Linked DNA regions of Homo sapiens: region 1 is linked to region 2. Evidence: promoter capture Hi-C in human tissues and cell types (Jung and others, 2019). All regions are on one chromosome and are shown on one strand. Each heading gives the region's core, a stretch centred on a gene start or on the middle of the fragment in contact. The rest is flanking DNA. Distances are from core to core; before and after follow the strand shown. Region 1 holds the start of LOC124901398 (a long non-coding RNA gene). Region 2 holds the start of KIAA0408.

Region 1 (4,238 bases), core at 1,615-4,114, 230 kb before region 2:
GTCATAATCCCTAACACTGCACTCCATTAGTGGAAAGAGATTAATGGCAGCCCAGATTCAAGGAGATAGCAAATAGGCCCTACCTCCCTATAGGAAGAATGTCAAAGAATTTGTGGCTGTTGTTCATCTGCCACACGATTTGACCAGAAACAGGCTAATAATGCACAGATGTGTGAGAAACTAGGGAGGGTTCAAGCTTTGGACACTTTCCAGAAGGAAGTGTCACAGATAGCTAGAGTTTAAGAGCAGAAAATGTCTCTGATACTACTGGTAAAACTGAAGATTGGATAATTGTGGAAAAGGAAAGAAATGAAATTACAGATTTGGGGTTATAGTCATGCACATTTGTTTAGATCTAACTAAACATGCTGTACTACTTGGCCCAAAAGGTTTTCTTCATGTCCTAGATGACATGTTTACATTGTGCGTATTACCTTGACTGCCTACATGACTTTCCCGTTCTGCTTCTGCAACCATGTTGTTAAGATTGTAAATTCTGCCATTTTTTATTGTCCTTTATGTTTCTGAAATGTATTCTATCTGTAAATATATCTGGATACATATGATCCATTAATAGTACATAGTCTCAGTCAGGAGGCTCCTGTTCGTTTGATAATTCAGAGACATACAAAAAGGTAGCAATGGATACAAGCCTGGTGTAATAGGACTAACCATTAACCAATCACATCAGCAGTAATTCCCCTTCCCAGGCCAAAATAGAATAGTTCAAAGCAAAATAGGTGGTTTGGACAAAGCATTCACTGTGTGGTCAAGCAGAAATCTGCCATATCATTTGCAAAGTGCATGACTTGTTTAAGTCATACTTAATATGAAGTTAGTACTACTTATTTTCTAGAGTTGTTAGGATCATTTAAGAAAAGATATATCATGTAGATAGCACATAAGAGCCATTCAATAAATCATAATAATTATTATTAATATTATTTCAACTATAATATGATGCAAGTAAGGAACTACAATAAAATACAAAAACCCATATATACAGCACATGAATCTGGTTAAATATCTGTGTTCTAGAACTTTAATTTCTAAAACAGATAAAATAATATCCATATGTTCCTCATATGATTATGTATTGTCGTTAAATATGAAGACATGTTACATTATGGTTTTTTAAAAAACTTATTTTTAGAAGTACTGTTTGCTCTCTTGTGGATTTGAATTGACCAGCGTTTGACTTGAAAATTTTCTGTTTGCTTACACATTTTTCATGTACGTGAAGATTTAGAAGATATTATTGTTAATAGAAATAGAATGAATATAAAGGTGAATAGAATTTAACAGTAATAGAATAGATTGAAAAGTAAAATATTTTATGATTCCAATGACTGTTTTTGTGACTAAGCATATTCTTTAGATAACAATTATTTTTAAATGATTCTCCACAACGTAAAACTAATATACTTAAAAATGCAAGTAGTACCACAAAAGAAAGTTCCCAATAAGTTGGTTGTCTTCTAAAACAGAAGAATACTTAAAATACACCATTATATCTATTTTTTTATATTCCCTTACTCTGGCATTTTCTCTTTGCTATATTTCCAGAATTTGGTTGCCAGTTCTGTTTTTCTTCTCTCTCTCTCCAAGTATTCTCAAGACTCTCCATGTAGACCCCACAAGTATAATTAACCTCTCCCTCAGAATTCCTTGTTTTTAAGGGGAGTATGTTGTGTTTTTTTCTTTAAGAACTTTTTTTTTTTTTCCTGAGATGGAGTCTAGCTTGGTCACCCAGGCTGGAGTGCAGTGGTGTGATCTCAGCTCACTGCAACCTCCGCCTCCTGGGTTCAAGCAATTCTCCTGCCTCAGCCTCCCAAGTAGCTGGGATTACAGGTGCCTGCCACCATGCCCAGCTAATTTTTGTATTTTTAAAAGAGACAGGTTTAACCATATTGATCAGGCTGGTCTCGAACTCCTGACCTCCAGTGATCCTCCCACCTCAGCCTTCCAAAGGCACCCAGTCTTCTCTAAGAACTATTTTGGCATTTTAATTTGATGCCTTATTTAAGAGTCATTTGTGTTTATGTCTGTCTCCCATACTTGATTATAAGCTCATGAAAAGAAGAAAACTAACCCCATGTCCCCAAAATACAAACCAGAAAGCTTTATACATAAAAGATATTCAATAAGAAAGGTTAAATTTACTAATGCACACACATAAACCAATCATGCACTTCATTAACCAACCAAACACTGGTAATAATATAAAACAATAGGGCTGGCAAGATGGCCGAACAGGAACAGCTCCGGTCTGCAGCTCCCAGCAGCAAGATCAATGCAGAAGGCGGGTGATTTCTGCATTTCCAACTGAGGTACCTGGCTCATCTCACTGGGACTGGTTAGACAGTGGGTGCAGCCCATGGAGGGCAAGCCGAAGCAGGGTGGGGTATCACCTCACCCAGGAAATGCAAGGGGTAGAAGGACTCCTTCCCCTAGCCAAGGGAAACCATGAGGGACTGTGCCATGAGAAATGGTGCACTCCGACCCAGTTACTACACTTTTCCCATGGTCTTTGCAACCTGCAGACCAGGAGATTCCCTCAGGTGCCTATGCCACCAGGGCCCAGGGCATCAAGCACAAAACTGGACAGCCATTTGGGCAGACACAAAGCTAGCTGCAGAAGTTTTTTTTCCATACCCCAGTGGTGCCTGGAATGCCAGCGAGACAGAACCATTCACTCCCCTGGAAAGGGGGGCTGAAGCCAGAGAGCCAAGTGGTCTAGCTCAGTGGATCCAACCCCTACAGAGCCCAACAAGCTAAGATCCGCTGGCTTGAAATTCTTGCTGCCAGCACAGCAGTCTGGTTGACCTGTAATGCTCGAGCTTGGTAGGGGGAGCGGCAACCACCATTACTGAGGATTGAGTAGGTGATTTTCCCCTCACAGTGTGAACAAAGCCGCCGGGAAGTTCGAACTAGGTGGAGCCCACTGCAGCTAGGCAAAGCCACTGTAGCTAGACTGTCTCCCTAGATTCCTCCCCTCTGGGCAGGGCATTACTGAAAAAAAGGCAGCAGCCCCAGTCAGGGGCTCATAGATAAAACTACCATCTCTCTGGGACAGAGCACCTGGGGGAAGGGGTGGCTGTGGGTGCAGCTTCAGCAGACTTAAAAGTTCCTGCCTGCTAGCTCTGAAGAGAGCAGCAGATCTCCCAGCACAGTGCTTGAGCTCTGCTAAGGGGCAGACTACCTCTTCAAGTGGGTCCCCGACCCCCGTGCCTCCTGACTGGGAGACACCTCTCAGCAGGGGTTGAAAGACACCTCATACGGTAGAGCTCCAGCTGGCATCTGGTGGGTGCCCCTTTGGGACGAAGCTTCCAGATGAAGGAACAGGCAGCAATCTTTGCTGTTCTGCAGCCTTCGCTGGTGATACCCAGGCAAACAATGTCTGGAGTTGACCTCCAGCAAACTCCAGCAGACCTGCAGCAGAGGGGCCTGACTGTTAGAAGGAAAATTAACAAACAGAAAGGAATAGGATCAACATCAACAAAAAGGACATCCACACAGAAACCTCATCCGAAGGTCACCAACATCAAAGACCAAAGGTAGATAAATCCACAAAGATAAGGAAAAACCAGTGCAAAAAGGCTAAAAATTCCAAAAACCAGAATGCTTCTTCTCCTCCAAAGGATCACAAATCCTTACCAGCAAGAGAACAAAACTGGATGGAGAATGACTTTGACGAATTGGCAGAAGCAAGCTTCAGAAGGTAGGTAATAACAAACTCCTCAGAGCTAAAGGAGCATATTTTAACCCAATGCAAGGAAGCTAAGAACCTTGAAAAAAGGCTAAGGAAATTGCTAACTAGAATAACCAGTTTAGAGAAGAACATAAATGACCTGATGGAGCTGAAAAACACAGCATGAGAACTTTATGAAGCATACACAAGTATCAATGGCCGAATCGATCAAGCGAAAGAAAGGATATCAGAGATTGAAGATCAACTTAATGAAATAAAGCATGAAGACAAGATTAGATAAAAAAGAATGAAAAGGAACTAACAAAGCCTCCAAGAAATATGGCACTATGTAAAAAGACCAAATCTACGTTTGATTGGTGTACCTGTAAGTGATGGGGAGAATGGAACCAAGTTGGAAAACACTCTTCAGGATATTATCCAGGAGAACGTCCCCAGCCTAGCAAGACAGGCCAACATTCAAATTCAGGAAATACAGGGAACACCACAAAGATGCTCCTTGAGAAGAGAAACTCCAAGACACATAATT
Region 2 (4,063 bases), core at 202-2,701:
CTTTTTAGATTATTGTTTAGAGTACTTGTTTCTTGCTGTCCTTATTTCCTTTTGCTAAACATATCACTTTTCACATAATTAAAGATTTTTCATTTATAAGAGGTTACATATTCCAATAGAAATGCCACACACAGTAGGTACTGCTAATCTCACAATTCCTAGAAGACTCATTTGGCCTGAAGATGTTTTGCTTCTGCTTAACTTTGATGGATTAGGAATTCCCCAGCTTATAACCTATCAGAGTAATGTACCATTTACCTCCTAAATTCTCTATCCCTTTCTCCAGGCTATTATAATCACTTGAATTATTTCAATGAATTAATAAATCTCATTCCTCTCTATTGTTCACTTGCAATTGAATCTTTCCAAAGACCACCATGATTTGATTTTGTTAGAGTAAAAGGGAAATTTTTTTCATTGCTGTGTATTGCTGATTTAGCACATTCCTCATGCTCCAACAAGGTCAAAGAGACACTACCACATGCAATTCCGAATGAATCAACTTTACCGTTTCATTTAATTATCTTCTTCCTTGTTTTCTTTACAGTTATTTACTCAAATTAGAAAACATCCAAGCTGTATGCACACTGATTTTACTTATAAAATGCAAACTTTAAAAGCAAACATTTGGTTTGAGTAAACAAATGTCTAAAACTAACCATCGTGAACAAAAGACATAGTGGTAAGTTTCCCTCCTAAACGTAGATTATTCAATTATGAATGGCATAGACTTCAGCTCAAATTACAGAAACACTAACTCTACAGTGAGTCCACCACCACCTTAGATAAAACTAAAATTTATTTTTCACCGCAATTTTCAAATACCAAGTCTCCAGGATTGTGACCTTTAATTTGCAAATGTTAAAAGTCTTTATATGAATAAAAAAAATCACATTTGAATAAATATACTTAGTGAAAATCAATGATGGGCAAAGTGCTTTTCAAACAACTGAGAAGCAGTGTTGGAAAAACAGTCTCAAAGAGCGGATGGTACTGTCAGTCCACAGTTGGGAAATCCACCCTGAGCAGCTGAACAGCCTTTTTCCTAGGAGTCAGTACAATCTGTTATGCACCCCGCCCACTGTTTTTAAGCCCAGACACAGACAACAGCAGAGACAGATGTTGAAATTACACTCCACTTAAACAGTATCCATAGTTTAAAACATCTCAACAGCAGCCCCTTTGTATCCTGCCATAATTAGTCACTTGCTTGTAAACTTGCCGGAAAGAAACATACCTTTCACACTGGGGAGAAATCCTATGGATGCTCGACCACTGGTCAATTAGCAGTGGAAGAAAGTGGATGGCTAGCTGTCTTAAAGAGAAAAGTCTCAGCTCGGTGAATCTCGATTCTTTACAAGAAAAGGGGATGCAAAATAAGTCCAACCATTCCACAGAGCAGTACTGACAAGTCCCTTTGAAACCTTCACCACTTTTACAAGTCAAAAAGCTGCTCAGCTTAGTGTCACAGCAGCAGCTGAGACTACTGTGACGTCAGTTACTTGGAGGCGGCCTTCAAGCCACCTCTTCCAACCAGAGCTCTGTAACTTTAGAGCAGCTCATGCTCTGGGTAAACAACTCCAGGTCCAGGACATTTTTAGCTTTTATAATGGAGCCCAGTATTTTCAAACTTGCCAAAAGAGCTGGTTGTTAACATCATACAATGACAATGGCCAATTTTAGATTTATTTTATTAGGAAAGTAAACTCATTTTTTTATAGGCAAGAATTATCTCCCTCCTTCCATAATTCTTTCTCCTTCTCAGCTGGTGGCAGGATGTACTCTGCTGCACCTTTAGAAGTTTGCATCTGGATGTGGCAGAACAATATGTGTAGCATAATTATATATATTATGCACTCTCAAAAGATCTGTGAAAGTTATCAAACTTCTATCTTCAAATAAAATAGAAATGGAACATAAAGTCCAACCTCTTAGCTCTCTGTGATTCTGACAGTGTGTTGCTTTTATCTACAGTAGTAGCGATGTCTTTACGTTAGAGAAAATCAGAGCCCATGGGAAAGGATGAGATTTCTTATTGTGGGAGGACAAAACACACACACACACACACCCCAAAAATGAGATACCTATGGGCTTATTTTCCACTAAAGTGTGCTGCAGCCATAGGAAGAGAAAGCAGCCTAAGTGTATGGAAAAGCTCTCTAAATCATGATCAAATCAGCCTGTTCTGAAATGCTAGGAGATCTTGCCTCCCCAGCGACATTTTCAGGTTTATTGTGGCTTTGTACACACATGCATCTGATGATATTTGGTTTAATTTAGTCAAAAAAGTCTCTAGAGCAATTTTTTGCCTAACTTAGCAAATACACAAGTTTAAACAATAAGGTCTTATCTTCAAGTCTGAAGAGCTTCCCTGGTGTGGTCTTTAAAGTAATACATATTCACTCACATTATTTTCACCTGCTTCCAGATAAACATTTCATGAGGAGCTAAAGTTTAGTAATAGTAACCTGCTCACAGTAGGACTTTAATACATGTAGGACAATCAAATGAAACCATACTCTGTGTCTGGAAAGCCTGACATCATAATCTCAACAGCAATAACAACAATAACAGTGATAGTTATAGTAATAATAGTGATTATTCACTGAGGGGCAACCCTCTGCAAGGTTCTGTGCTAAGTACTTTGAACAGACCTTTATCTGAGTTCACCCTCAGAGCAATTCTGTCTCTAGATACTGATAATCTGATCTTACTGATAAAACCCAAGCAAGGCTCATTGTGGTAAAGCATCATGCAAAAGTTCATAGAAATGCACCCATGTGGAGGAAACGGGTTTGAACTGTTTTGTCTGATTGCAAACCATGGAATTTTGTCATAGAGATCTAAGTTTCAATTCTGCTGCCACCACTTATCTGTGTGATCTTGCAGACCCTGATTCTTCCTTAAAGACATAATTATATTTACTTTAAGAGGCCATAAGAATATGAGGGAATATATATAGCGCCAAGCACACAATAAAGGGTAGCTCATGTCTGCCTCCATGCTTATGAGGCTAGGAAGAAGATTCTTTGAGAGAGGGAAAGGGAGGAGGGAGTTGCACAAAAACATCAATACAGAATTGTCTTAACATTGTTTCTGGCCGGGTGTGGTTGCTCACACCTGTAATCCCAGCACTTCTGGAGGCGGAGGCAGGTGGATCACATGGGGTCAGGAGTTCGAGACAAGCCTGGCCAACATGGTGAAACCCTGTGTCTACTAAAAATAAAAAAATTAGCCGGCTGTGGTGGCTCAGGCCTGTAATCCCAGCTACTAGGGAGGCTGAGGCAGGAGAATTGCTTGAACCCGGGAGGCAGAGGTTGTAGTAAGCAGAGATGGCATTCCTGCACTCCAGCCTGGTTGACAGAGCAAGACTCTGTCTCAGAGAAACAAAACAAAAAACATTGTTTCCTTTACCTTTTCTTCTACTCCAAACTTCTTAACTTCTATGTATCACTTGTAAATCAAACTAAGACTATTTTGTAAATCCTATCGAAAATTCAGATAGTATGTGTCTAAGTTACAAGAGATGTTAGGTTGGACTATACTTCCTAAGTGTCACTCAGTAGTACCCATTTCAATCTCTTTTAATGGCTGTCCCAGTGTGATTGTCCCAGGGCAATCACAAATAATTGCCCTATGTTTTAGAAAGAATTATGTCATTCATACCTGATGACATACTAATTTATTTCAATGTATATCAGATTCAAGTGCTTCATCTGCTTCTTGTCATGGTAAAGCTGATCTTAAATTGTACACAGAATCAAATAATAATGAAAATCTTTGACAAAAAGTTTACTCCAAGTTTACCACTTATTCTAGTATTTACCAACTTTTTCTGTTGAAGTTTATATATATATAATTTATATTATATGTTATTTATATAAAATATATAATTTCCAGGCCATATTTCATACCCAAAAGACAGAAAGTAAGTCAATTAGGTGATACGGTGCAAAGTCAAGAAATGTTCAGCACAGCTTTTGATATTTTCCCTTGAAAACTTTTTGTTTTTTAAGAAAACTTTTAAAAGAAAATTTACCACAATTATATACATAAAATGAAT

What was found. Contacts are between HindIII fragments. The study calls those that stand out against the background at their distance.
Region 1: a contact is called between a fragment that was not itself captured here and the fragment with the promoter of KIAA0408 in region 2, in 2 of the 25 tissues and cell types used here (ovary and pancreas).

Annotation. Positions count from the first base shown.
Region 1 is chr6:127,225,952-127,230,189 of GRCh38, forward strand. LOC124901398 (a long non-coding RNA gene) reads right to left here and starts at 3,064. Exons shown (of 2, transcript XR_007059749.1): 1 at 1-3,064. The HindIII fragment of the contact is 3,413 bases long and covers 1,159-4,238 here.
Region 2 is chr6:127,457,938-127,462,000 of GRCh38, forward strand. It overlaps KIAA0408, which reads right to left and starts at 1,452. Exons shown (of 6, transcript NM_014702.5): 1 at 1,238-1,452. The region is part of intron 7 of SOGA3-KIAA0408 (SOGA3-KIAA0408 readthrough); the gene reads right to left. The HindIII fragment of the contact is 15,174 bases long and covers 1-4,063 here.